Linked DNA regions of Homo sapiens: regions 1 and 3 are each linked to region 2. Evidence: promoter capture Hi-C in 16 types of primary human blood cells and fetal thymus (Javierre and others, 2016). All regions are on one chromosome and are shown on one strand. The core of a region is centred on a gene start or on the middle of the fragment in contact, and the rest is flanking DNA. Distances in the headings are between cores, read along the strand shown.

The links. Contacts are between HindIII fragments. The CHiCAGO score rates a contact against its expected background, and 5 or more counts as called.
Region 1: a fragment that was not itself captured here is called in contact with the fragment with the promoter of C7orf25 in region 2 in 3 of 17 cell types (non-activated CD4 T cells, naive CD4 T cells and activated CD4 T cells); the score reaches 7.5 in non-activated CD4 T cells.
Region 3: a contact is called between the fragment with the promoter of MPLKIP here and the fragment with the promoter of C7orf25 in region 2, in 4 of 17 cell types (naive B cells, total B cells, naive CD8 T cells and 1 more). The highest score is 10.3, in naive B cells.

The regions. Positions count from the first base shown.
Region 1 is chr7:45,111,905-45,116,001 of GRCh38, forward strand. No RefSeq gene overlaps it. Among named protein-coding and RNA genes, the nearest start is that of TBRG4, 2.3 kb to the left of the region's middle. RefSeq lists enhancers at 1-201, 1-320. The HindIII fragment of the contact is 669 bases long and covers 920-1,588 here.
Region 2 is chr7:42,910,696-42,915,379 of GRCh38, forward strand. C7orf25 (chromosome 7 open reading frame 25) reads right to left here and starts at 1,375. Exons shown (of 2, transcript NM_001099858.2): 1 at 1,220-1,375; 2 at 1-226. The coding sequence starts at 205. RefSeq lists enhancers at 204-901, 902-1,598, 3,118-3,177 and a silencer at 947-1,206. The HindIII fragment of the contact is 2,903 bases long and covers 1-1,654 here.
Region 3 is chr7:40,132,274-40,136,669 of GRCh38, forward strand. MPLKIP (M-phase specific PLK1 interacting protein) reads right to left here and starts at 2,349. Exons shown (of 2, transcript NM_138701.4): 1 at 1,956-2,349; 2 at 1-986. The coding sequence starts at 2,294. The coding sequence ends at 786. It overlaps SUGCT (succinyl-CoA:glutarate-CoA transferase), which reads left to right and starts at 2,732. Exons shown (of 14, transcript NM_001193313.2): 1 at 2,732-2,847. The coding sequence starts at 2,748. RefSeq lists silencers at 2,075-2,144, 2,605-2,804 and an enhancer at 2,355-2,424. The HindIII fragment of the contact is 4,548 bases long and covers 761-4,396 here.

The DNA.
Region 1 (4,097 bases), core at 4-2,503, 2.2 Mb after region 2:
GACCAGTACGCCATCCTCATACGGAGTGCGGGAGACGACCCTTTGTTGTCGGTGCTGTCACCCTATCCCTCCCTGCTTGCGTAGGCGTAGGAGAGTTCCTAGGGCGGTGGAAGACTGGGCTGGTGGAGTGGGATAGGCGACGTTGAGGCCTGTGGGGGCTGGGAGGACGAGTGAGTGGAGACTGGGGAACTCCAGAGCGCCCACTTGCAGCTGGATTTTTATGTGCAATTTTCCTGATTTTTAAATAGTGGTGTTTAATTACAAAGTAAAGTGCAGGATAGCCCAAACGAAATGTATCTGAGGTCTATATATGGACTTGATTAATTTTTACTTCCTGCACAGCCTTTTATTTTCTGTGGAGTTAATAATTACTTGGCTACGCACGGTGGCTCACGCCTGTAATCCCAGGCCTCGGTGGGCGGATCACTTGAGTTCAGGAGTTCGAGACCAGCTTGGCCAACATGGCGAAACCCCGTCTCTACTAAAAATACAAAAAAATTAGCCGGGCGTGGTAGGGCGCACCTGTAGTCCCAGCTACTAGGGAGGCTGAGGCATGAGAATCGCTTGAATCCGGGAGGTGGAGGTTGCAGTGAGCAGCGATCTTGCCACTGCACTCAGCCTGGTTGACAGAGCAAGACTCTGTCGCAAAAAACAAAACAAAAAACATAAAAATAAATAATTACGTTTGTTTGTGTTTGTAAACTAAAAATAAAATTGTAAGCCCCCCAAGCACTGAACGGACCTCCTCTTAGCCAAGGAGACCCCAGAGAAACCTTAAAAACTGAGTTCCCAGCCATTCTGGAAAGGGAGGTTGAACACCCCTTGTTAAAGTAGAGATCATAAGACTAACAGACTTTGTGGTAGTAAGATACCAAATTATAAACAAGACCTAAGGCCGTGCAAGGCAAGGGTTAAGTCAAGCTTGCAGACCATCAATCTTGCTGAAGAGGTCTTTTTTGACCCAGTGTATTGTGGCTGATTCTGGCATACTATCTTAAACATTCTTTTCTGCTGACTCCAAATTTTACACAGAGCCTCACTCTTTTAACCAGTTGCAAATTAAAAAATCTCTTGGTCAAGCTGGCTGAGGTGGGAGGATCACTTGAGGCCAAGAGTTCAAGACTAGCCTGGGCAACATAGGGAGACCCTATCTACCCCTACCAAGAGATCTATCTATCTATCTATCAATCAATCATATATCGTGTATATATCTATGTATTTGAGTCCACATATAACTTGTAAACCCCCCACATCAAGACATCCTGTCTTTTGGAGCCAAACCAGTGTATACCTTCCACACATTGATTTATGTCTTTGCCTGTAACCCCTGGCTCCCTGAAATGTATAAAACCAAACTATAATCTGACTGCCTCGGGAACACTTAAGGCTTTTTGGGTTTGTATTTTCCTGGGGCTGTGGTCACTCATTGGCCCTGAATAAACCTCTTTAAGTAATTTACAGAGTTTGATTTTTCTGTTAACAGTTAATTAAGATTCCATGTATTTATCACAAATTCTACTCCAAATCCTTCACAAGTTGTCTGTCAAAAGACAATATTACAACAGATTTATAGATCTGTTAAAAGAAAAGCTTTAGACAAACTAATGGAGTTTTGTTGAGGAAAGAACCTTGAAAACATGCTAAGGGAAAGAAGTTAGACACATGAGGCCACATATTGTATAGTTCCATTTATATTTGCAATGTCCAGAGTAGGTGAATTGATAGAGTCACCTATGTGATGTTGAGGTGGGGAGAATAGGGAGTGACTTCTGATGGGTTTGAGGTTTCTTTTTGAGATGGTAAAAGTGTCCTGGAATTGGATAATAGGGATGGTTGCACAACACTGAGTATACTAAAAGCCACCTGTGACTTAAGAAATATATATGTGGTCTCTGCATAGAGCTTCTAAAACCCTTGTAACTTTTTTCTTTAGGTTTTCATTAAGGCATTTTATAAAGATAATATCATTTGTATTTATAAAATGTTTGCTACATATACATAATATATATAGTGTATATATAAATTTAAATATGCTCAAGTTACAAAGCAGAATTATGAAAAGAAACCCGTGAACCCATTACTCCACTTAAGAAATAGAATATTACCAATATTGTTGCAATTTTCTGAGAGTTTCCTCTTCTTTCTTATCCCTCCACCCCAGCTAATTGCTATCCTGATGTTTTTCATTTGTGTATGTGTATTTTAATTTAATTTAAAGTTCCAGGATACATGTGCAGGACGTGCAGGTTTGTTATATAGGTAAACGTGTGCCGTGGTGGTTTGCTGCACCTATCAACTCATCACCTAGGTATTAAGCCCTGCATGCATTGGCTACTTATCCTGGTGCTCTCCCTTCCCCCTGTCCCATGGACAGACCCCAGTGTGTGTTGTACCCCTCCCTGTGTCCATGTGTTCTCATTGTTCAGCTCCCACCTATAAGTGAGAACATGCAGTGTTTGGTTTTCTGTTCCTGTGTTAGTTTGCCAAGGATAATGGCTTTCAGCGCCATCTGTGTCCCTGCAAAGGACATGATCTCATTCCTTTTTATGGTTGCATAGTAGTCCATGGTGTATATGTACCACATTTTCTTTATCCAGGCTATCATTGATGGGCATTTGTAAAACACTTGTAACTTCTTGAATGATAGTGACATCTTTTGTTATTCATCATAAGCCCCTTTTAACCATACCTGAGTTTATGCCACTAATGAAGTGGCTTTTGGAAGATGGGAGCTGGTTATCAGAGAAACCAACCATGTGATTAGAGGGCTGAAACTTTTAGCCCCACCTCTCAACCTCCAGAGAGAGGAGAGAGGCTGGAGATTGATTTGATTACAGTTTATCTAAAAGAAGAAACGGAGGCAAAATTAATAAAAGTGGAGAGTTTACATTTGAACCAAAATGAAGACAGCTGCCCAGAAGACTCACATGCAAGTAACCTGGGATATGAGCTTCATTAAGCCTTTGTTACAAGCAGGTTTTTAAAGGTAAAAAAGGGGACTAGGCATGGGGCAGATAAAAAGTTGTTTGTCAGGAATTCTCATTGGTTTACAGAAATAACATTGATTAGTGATGGCTATACATTGTTGAATGATAGGGTATGAGTTATGTTGTGCAGCATGCAGTATTGTTAGGTTAATTTATAGCTACTTGGGGGGCAGTCAGTCTAGAGTCCACATAGCAAGCAGCTTCAAAAGATGATTATTCAGCAAGAGGGAGGAAGTGAGATGTGACTGCTGTCTCTTTCTCATGCCTTTTTTTGGGCCTGATAATTTAGAGGAAGCTCATATTCCTCATATAAAAACATTTCTTTTGACTGTCATTACTAATGGCCAATGATTTTATCAATTATACCTAGGTAATGAAACTTCATAAAAACTTATTAAACAATGGGGTTCAGAGAGCTTCCAAGTTGGTGAATGCATCCACATGCTGGGAAGGTGTCACCTCCCAAACCCCATGGGAACAGAAGCTCTGATGCTTGAGATTCTTCCAGAAGTGTTGTGATTAGAGGAACAGTTTCCTTTGGAACCTGGCCCTAAGACTTTTTTTTTTTTTTTTTTTGAGATGGAGATTCGCTCTGTCGCCCAGGCTGGAGTGCAGTGGCGCTATCTCGGCTCACTGCAAGCTCCGCTTCCTGGGTTCATGCCGTTCTCCTGCCTCAGCCTCCCGAGTAGCTGGGACTATAGGCACACGCCACCATGCCCGGCTAATTTTTTGTATTTTTAGTAGAGACAGGGTTTCACCGTGGTAGCCAGGATGGTCTTGATCTCCTCATCTCGTGATCCGCCCGCCTCGGCCTCCCAAAGTGCTGGGATTACAGGTGTGAGCCACCGTGCCTGGCCCCTAAGACCCTTTTAATCTAGATGTTCATCTGTATCCTTTAAAATATGCTTTGTAATAAACTAGTAAACATAGATGTTATGATCTGATTGTGTCCCTCCGAAATGTGTATGTTCAAGTCTAATCTGCAAAGTGTTGATATTAAGAGGTGGGGCCTTTGGGAGGTAATTAGGTCAAGAGGATGGAGCCCTCGTGAATGGAATTAGTGCCCTTATAAAAGAGGCCCGAGGGAGCATGTTTGTCCCTTTCTCCTTC
Region 2 (4,684 bases), core at 125-2,624:
GGTTAGTGCTCTGTAAATGAGACTCTTTAATAGCTACTTTCCCAGCTTCTACTTTCTGCAAGAATTTTAATTCTGCCTTCAATTTGCTGCACAGCTTTGCACCACCTTCTATGCCACCTTTTCTTGATCTAGAAAGTGATTCTGCTCTCTTGATCAGTTCCTTGGCTATGGCGATTCGTTCACAGAGCATGGAATGTGCAGACATGCTGTCAGCATTATTCCTTTCCTAGGGAAAGAAACAAGGCAAACTTCAGTAGTCTCCTAAAATTATGACAATCAATTCTTCACTGGTGATTAAAAACTTCAATCTAGCAACACAGCTTATGGAGGGTGAGTCTATGAACCCGGGCTTGTGTATGTCTCATTCTGGAGTGACTGCTTCCTCTGATAGCTAAGGAAAGGATGGCAGCTACACTTTTGAACTCTTCTTTAGGTACGTCTGACACACTTTAGACCTTCATTTCTTCAGCTTGAAAGCCATGGGGACACAGCATGGTCCTAGGTTAGGATACAATGCAAGAGTTGGGCAATCTGCTATATAAATAATTCCCTTATGTCTATCAGCGGCCTGTTTAACTGCTGAGAAATTTTAATAAAGGCGACAAAAATGCCGAAAACAAAAATACACACAGACTGGCTAGTTAGCAAACTGTCCAAAGCAAGTGTCTGTCCTAAACTGAGCACTTCAGCCTCCCTAACCTTTTCCTCCTTCCCGAGTTGGTCTCCTTCAACCGGCTGCCTCATGATTTCCCCCGAGGCTTGGGGTACTTACGCCAAAAAAAATCAACACTGCCTCATTTCTGCATTTGACGTCAACCCAGACTATTTTAAAAGACCGAAGAAGACCACCAACTTGCGTCCCACTCCCACTCCGACTCTGAAGGAAAATCCGAAGATGAAACTAAACTCCAAGGCTGCAACCCGCGGCGGCCGTGCAAGCGGCCCCAGCGCAGGTCGCCGGGTGGGCGGGCCAGAGGCCGGCGGGGCCTTCTCGGTGGGCTGCGGGGCCCTCGGCCCTGCCCGGCCACCTGCACAGCCGGGCCCTGCCAGGAGGGGCCGGGGCCGAAAAGCCCCCACCGCCAGCGCCGCGGCTCAGGGACCAGGCGCTGATAGCGCGCGGCCGACCCCCTTCCCGCCGGGCCGGCCCTGCCCAGCCCCCTCTGGCCTCAGAAGAGGCGCCCCGCTCCCAGCCTCCCCGCCTCGCTCCCCGGCTCCTCACCGGCAGCGCCAGAACCGCGAGCGCGAGCACGCAGGCGCGTGCACGCAGAGGCCGGGACCCGCCGGGAAATCTCAACCGGGCAGCCCCCACCCCGCTCGAACGCCGAGGCGGCTCCACCCGCGCGAGCCCCGCCGCCTCGGGCACCTCCTGCATCACGTGGTTCCGGGCCGGGTGACGCCAAACCTGCGATTCCCAAGCGGCAGCGCGGCCTCCCGAGCCGGGTTGACGCTGGCGTGGCGGCCATGTTTATTGAGGGCACCTGGCTTCTCCCGCTTGCGCCGCCGGGTGAGCCTGAAGGCGCGCACCCACCTGGCTCCAGGAAGAGGGACCGAGCTCGCGTGCTGGGCCTCACTCCCACTGGGGGCGTCGGCCACTCGATCGCAACCGGGTCGTAGGCATTTTGGGGGCTCATTTTAACAGAAGAAACGCTGGAGAAGCTTGTCAGAGGTGACAGCTGAGAAGTACTGCCTCTGGGACTTCTGCCTCCAAGCCAAAGCACTTTCCACTGCATTGTCCTGGGCCCTCCAAAGAAAGTGTGCTGTCCTTCTGAAGAGAAGAAATGATTGCATGGCTTCCGAGGGGCTGCCATATTCATATTACTGTAGTAGAGTGTCCAGAGTCACCCAGAAAGATTAGGGCTGTAAGAAAGTAAAGCTAATTTAAAATATTAAAGAGGACTTCCAGTTATAATTAATCCTGTGTATCCTGCTCCTTCTCCAAACTTAACAGTAAAGCAATGCTCCTTCTCCAAATAACAGTAAAGCAATGACAAAGGGAACAAACAAAGGCAAAAAGAACAAGAGAAGAGATGACTGCAGACCGGTTATACCAACACATTTTTGGAGGACAAGAGCAATAACTTATTCAGTCCTTACAGCGTGACAGACATTGTTCTAAGTGTTTTACACATTGTTCACTCCTTTAAACAACCTAAAAGGTAGAGATATTAAGTATGCTTTACAGATAAGTGAGCCATAGGGAGGTTACCTGAACCCAAGCACCCTCTTTGCAGATGGTGTCAGGAGAACTGAGCAAACTGCTTGTAGAAGGGGATATTTAGCCACTGATTCACAAAGCAGAACCCCAGAAAGCTTCAGGTGCCTTGAAGGTAGAAGGGAGGGCAGTAAATTGTTCAGGCAGAAGACTAGTTTAAGATGCTAAAGACAGGGCATCAGAGGGATTCCAGACACAAAGCCTAACAAAGGATGAGAGGTGCCATGATGTTTTCCTACTGAATAGTGCAATGCTAGCAGCCCCCTTCTCTGCCCCTCCCATAATGCAGGCACCCCTCTACCGCTCCCTACCACTATCTCCCCATAACCCTATTTTTCTCTGAAGAAATGAGTAGACAAAAGACCCTAGAGAAATGGCTCGGCAATACCAACATTCAGCATCCCCTAGTGTGAGCCTCACGAACACAGCATTTCCCAACGTTTTTGTTATTTGAAGGAAATGGAAAACAGAACAAAATGGTCTCAAAAAGTATTCTATAACTAGCATCTTCAAATAAAAGATATTTCAGCTATGAAACAAGAGGATTTCTTTTTTTAAGGAGACAGCAGAGCACAGGAAATGGTTCTTCTGTAGTAAAAATCATATCCCAAATTTCAAAACATCAATGAGTTGGAAAAATTTAGAAAGTAGAAATAGATGAAAAATGGAGCAAAAACAAAAGGATCCAGTATCCAATTAACAGGAGTTTAGAAACAAAAACAAAATGAAGAGAAAATTTTTCAAAAACTTAATAGAAAATTTAGCAAACAGAAACGTTTTTCACAGTGCAAGGGCCCACTGAGTGCTCACCACAATGACTATTAAGAAACCCACACAAAGGAACATGGTTGTGAAGTTTCAGAACACAGCAGATAAGAGAAAAACCAAGAGCTGCAGAGGGGAAAACTTACAAAGGACTTGGCATCACATACGCAATAGTATTAGGCTTCCTATCAGCAACACTGGAATTTAGAAGGGAGTAATGCTTTCAAAATGTGGAGATAATTTATTTCTTAGAGTTTTTAAACCCAGCCAATTCAGAGAGAAAGCAAGGAGAATAAAGATAGTTTCAAACAAGCACCTAGCCTGGATTGGAACAGGAAGACAGAGGGTTCTAAGAGAAACTTCTCTGAGGTGTGGGGAAGAGAACTGATACAGAGTGCCTGATATCTGACTGATGAGGAAAATATTAAGCAGAGGGTGTTAAATTTCTGTTGGGGGAATCTGGCAAGGATTGGTGACAGCTACGCAGAAAACAAAGTAACCAAGTGGGCTGGGCGCCGCCATGGCTTATTTGTAATCCCAACACTTTGTGAGTCCAGGGCGGGAGAATCACTTGAGCACAGGAGTTCAAATCCAGCCTGGACAATGTAGTGAGATCCCTGTCTCCACAAAAAGTAAAAAAACTAGCTGGCCATGGTGGCTGACATCTGTATTCACACCTACTGCAATGGCTGGGGTGGGAGGATCGTTTGACCCCACGTCAAGGCTACAGTGAACTGATTTGTGCCACCTCACTCCAGCCTGGGTGACAGAGTGAGACTGTCTCAAAAAAAAAAAAAAAAGAAAAAAAAGCGGTTATCACTGCCAGGAAAGTTGTTCCGGAAATGTAAATTGTAGTACACTTAGTCATAAGAAAAATCTTCAACATGATTTAATTGAGGTAGGGAGAAGGAAGTCAGTGTGATATGAGGATTCTAAATTCTCATCTTGCACAATGGGAAGTCTGGCAGCTCAACTCCGGGAATCCAAGAAAAAGGCATATAATCCTACTATTTTGAAATACGGAGGCAAGTACCTCATGAAACACCTAAAAAAGTCAAAAGTGATGGCTTTCAGGGAGTAGCACTCACATTTTACTTAACTTTTTAAATATGCTCATGCTTAGGAAGTTATCAGATAATTGGCAGCCAGATATTGCTAGTTTCATAAGTTTCTTGAGAACAGGGTGGAGGGAGGAGCTCTAAATTGAAGGAACTGTGTGAAGCAATGTGACTTTCATACAGAACCACCAGGACTGGTTTTCAGGAAATCAGGATTCTAATCCAAGGGAACTCTCAACTCCTATATGTTCTTGGGCAATTCGCTGAACATCAACTTGCTCTTCTTTGCAATGGGGGGCTCAGAGAGCTTGCCTACATGGGTGAGTAGACTCCTGAAAAAAAGGTGAGGTAAGTACTAAGAGTTGGCAGTTTCATTCTATGAAGAAAACTGAGCAATAGATGAAAACCCTTCAATGTTCACTTATCACCTACTTGATGCCTGAGAGACTGTGCAAGGTAATTATCTCAAGGTTGGGTTTTTTTTTTTTTCCTTCAGGGATGCTTGAGTGTTATCAGCACTTGATAATTATAAGGCTCTGTATTAGTATTCTTTATTGCCTGTGTATGTGAATTTTAAGCATCTCCATGTTTCACTGCTATTAATTGCTTTGCAAATTTAAATTCATGGTTCAGTAGAACTGGGAGGAAG
Region 3 (4,396 bases), core at 1,099-3,598, 2.8 Mb before region 2:
ATGGCAAATTTGTCTTCTCTTGGATTGATGGAGATGAGAGATGTTCTTTTTGCAATGGAAGTGATTTGAGGCTGCTGGTAGCTATCTTCTTTGGCCTCAAGAGAAACTAACTCCATAATGCTAAGAGGTATAGAGAAATTCAGATAGAACACTTTGATTTAGCAATGCATGGTCTATTCTTGCCTTTTCCAGTTAAATGAGTATAAAGTTATGCTTAAATGGGTTTCTGGGGCTTCAAGTTTTAATGCATTTTAACAGAAGCATTAGATAAAATGAGTATGAACAGAACTCTGTTATTCTCATCCTCATTATTTACGAACAAATACAGAGCTGTCTACAGCTCAAAGGATGGTTTACCTATTTCATTTTCAAAAATAATTTGCAAAACATTTACCTATGAACTCTAAGTGACTACAAAGCATTACTGTAGTAAGTCTACTTCTTTATCATACCACAAAACCACAATAGCTAGAAGACAAAATGTTTTATTTTAAAACATTGAAAAAACATTAAAAGACAAATGTCCATTATGTAACCAGGAATGTTAAATATATGGAAACGGTAAATCTCTAAAATGTGGTAGGTACTTCCAGAGCTAAATGTTGCAAGTTATCCTACTTTTTTCTCTAATATCAACAATACCTGATACGATGAAAAATAACAAAAAGACCTTACTAATTATCCAATCAAAGTCATCATCTTTGGGTAAATTTATATCAACACAACTTAAAGTTTTGTCCAAGATGTTCCTGACACATGAAGCTTCCAGTTGAATTTCAGAAATGTTAACAAAAGTATCTTCCTTTTTTGCCTGTGAATGTTTGAGTATTGCTGTATTGTTGGCTTATATCCACTACAGATACTGGTTCTAGGCCAGCCCAAGGATCTTCAAGCATTGAAGGCTTGAAATAATTTTCCAACTCATTAGACATTCTTTTTTCTCTAACACGCCCTGATCCAAATGGTGTAGATGTCCTTGGAGAACCCTTTAGAAAAAAAATCAGTTAAAAAAACACTTAGTAAAGATAATTGGTACTTCTTCCTTTAGCTAAAGGTTAGCGGGAATCACATTGCTGCTTAAAAGTTGTGACTTGAACCTAAATAATGTTCAATTACAAAGTCCATGCTTCCTTTAATCAAGTGTTCCTATTTTTTAAAAAAAGTACTTAAAGCAATTCGTTATTCTCATTTATTTATAATTCCATGACCACTGTCATCTCAAATACTTTTGTGTCTAATGTAGTAACTTTGCAGTAATTAAATACAAGCAGTGATGAAATCAAGTAATTATATTCAATTTTCCCTCGAAATTTTCACTTTTTTCAGGAGAAAACAATACTATAGTTTTAAAGTTTCTAGAACCTTTCTAGCTCATGAACATTTTCTTTACTCCTTAGCTCCAGGCTCAAAAGGGGTAGGGGGTTGGTGTAGAATACAGCAAGTTGGAAAACCACGTAGTTGCAAGTTGTAAACCACAGAAATCCCAGACATGCTAGAGATACTCTCTCTGTCTTTTGTATTTACTCTCACTAAAGGAATGGAAAACTTCCACTACCACCGATTTTCTTTTCAGGGAAGTTGGAGCAGAAGCCAGTGTAGCTCGAAAGAAAGATAAAAAAAAAAAAAAAAAAAAGAAAAAGAACTATTTCTTGAAACAAACTGGCAAGGCCTTTGGCAAACAGGAGGAAATGGAGAATTAGGAAAATCTGTGTACGGGTGGCAGTGTATTGGTTAAAAGCACGAGGGCTCGAAAACAGAACGTACGGCTCTGCCACTCTTTCGGATAATCTTCCGGAAGTCACTCAACTTCTCTAAGCCTCAGTTCGCTCATCTGCAAAATTGGGCTAACAATAGTACCTCAGAGAGGATTAGACAAAATAATCCACGTAAAGGGAATATTAGTACCGTGCCTGCCATAAAGTAAGAGCTCGGCAAACGCTGGCTATTATTATTACCTGGGGGTGGGTCTGCTGCTGCCCTGGGGAGTAGCCGAATTGCTGCTGGGACCCCGCGGGGGACCTGGAGTAGGAGCCAGGGTAGCCGCCAGGGGACGGAGACCCGAACCGGCCCCCCGGGAAGCTGCCGCCGTGTCGCGGAGAGTGACTGCTCCCGTACGGCCTAGACCGGGGCCCGTACGGCGGCGTGTGGTGCGGACTCCCGTACCCGTCTCGAGGGGAGGGCGGCCGTGGTCCGCCCCCGCCCGGGGTTCCCCGGAAGCTGCTTCCGCTACCCCAACCTCCTCCACCCGGACCAGGGTAAGGAGGAGTTGGGGGCCGAAAATTCTGTCGCTGCATATCAGGAGCCAAAGCCGAAAACCTCGCAGCCGCGTTCTCCCACCGGAACTGTATCAACCGGCCCTCCGCAGAGAACTGCTAGTCCTTTACCAAAACAGTCCTCCGACCGCAGCCACCCTACGGCACATCAGTTCCGGCGTCACAAAGGTTCCGCCAGGGGCGGCGGGATTACCTAAATCACTGACTTGGCGAGAGACTCAGTGGATTTAAGTGAAAAGAGGAAGAAAAGGAGACAGGAAAGGACGGACACCCAAGCCCAGCAACAACCTTTCCAGTCTGAGTGCCCTTGGTCTGACCGACAGACTAGAAGCTGGCCCAGCAGGCGACTAGTGCTCAGCCCCGCCCGGCGGGGGCGGGGTCTGCGGCGTCCGTGGGCGCCCCCCAGTGGCGGCGGGTGGCGCCGCACGGAGTTCGCCGCTTGCACCGGGACCGATGCCATCTGAGACGCACGCGATGCTGGCGACGCTGGCGAGGGTGGCAGCTCTGCGCAGAACCTGCCTCTTCTCCGGCCGGGGCGGCGGGAGGGGGCTGTGGACTGGCCGCCCGCAGTCAGGTACCCTCCGAGATTCGGTCTGGGTGGCTAAAGGGATCCCTGCCCCAGCTTGCCTCCTCGGGCGCCCTGAGGAGAGCAATTAGGGTCTGAAGTCTCTGCTGACCCCTTAGCGGTGGCTTTGCTCGCCTCCCTGCAACCCCGTTCCGTGGGCCTGCGGCCGGCCTGCCCCGCTCTGGCCGCCCAGGGTCGCCTCTGTCCCGTGCGTTGTTGTGACCGAGGGCTCCGTGCGCCGTGGGGTCCCGCTCCTGCGCGTCCCGCGGCTCGCGTTTGGGGCCTCTTTACTCCTGTCCTTTCGTCCGCCAAGTTTAAGTAACTTCGAAAATGCACACCAAGCCACATTTCAGAAAGGACTTTAGCCCGCTGCTTTGAATAACTTGACACTTCATGTACAATAAAAGATGCCCTTGTACAGTTACCTGTTGCAGAATTTTATTTAGAGGATGAAATTTAGCTTTACTACAGTGTTATAGAACTTTCTTTACTCCCTCTGAATTTGGGAATGGTAATCCACTATGAATCTTTTTTTTCCTTTTTTCTTTTTTTCTCTTTTTTTTGAGACGGAGTCTCGCTGTCTCGCCCAGGCTGGACTGCAGTGGCGCGATCTCGGCTCACTGCAACCTCCTCCTCCCGTGTTCAGGAGATTTTCCTGCTTCAGCCTTCCGAGTAGCTGGGATTATAGGCATGCGCCACCACGCCCAACTAATTTTTGTATTTTTAGTAGAGACGGGGTTTCGCCATATTGGCCAGGCTGGTCTCGAATTCCTGACCTCAAGTTATCCTCCCGCCTCGGCCTCCCAAAGTGTTGAGATTACAGACGTAATCTCTATGATTATGCGCGCGGCCCACTATGAATCTTGAAATTAGTTGCAGGATGCAGGATTTTTTTTTTTTTTTTTGAGACAGTCTCGCTCTGTCGCCCAGGCTGGAGTGCAGTGGCGCGATCTTGGTTCACCACAACCTCTGCCTCGCGGGTTCAAGCGATTCTCTTGCCTCAGCTTTCTAGAGTAGCCGAGATTACAGGCATGTGCCACATGCCCGGCTAATTTTTTTGTATTTTTAGTAAAGACGGGTTTCACCATGTTGGCCAGGCTGGTCTCAAATTCCTGGGCTCAAGTGATCCGCCTGCCTCTGCCTCCCGAAGTGCTGGGATTTCATGCGTGAGCCACCGCGCCTGGCGTAGGATACAGAATCTTAAAAGAGCTTTAGGACTCATTAAATCATAGCCTAACGGGTAGCCTGGACCTGTGATTTCCATTCACCCTCTTGTAGCTGCTACTCCTCGCTGTCTCTTTGACATGTTCTGTGACATCCCAAGCTGACGAGTGTGGTATCTTCTCAGCTTCTATCCTCCTTGATGAATGGAGACACACACAGACAGTTTTTTTGTTTGTTTATTCTGTGGAAATTCAATTCACTACATTTCGTTTCTTCTGTAGATACAAGTGATAGACTTAATCAAGGTAGCACGTTGCCATTAAGGCTTAGTGATACAATTAAGGTCGGAGGACTCCAGCCTATCCACTTTATTAAATACAGTAGTTCTGTCCTG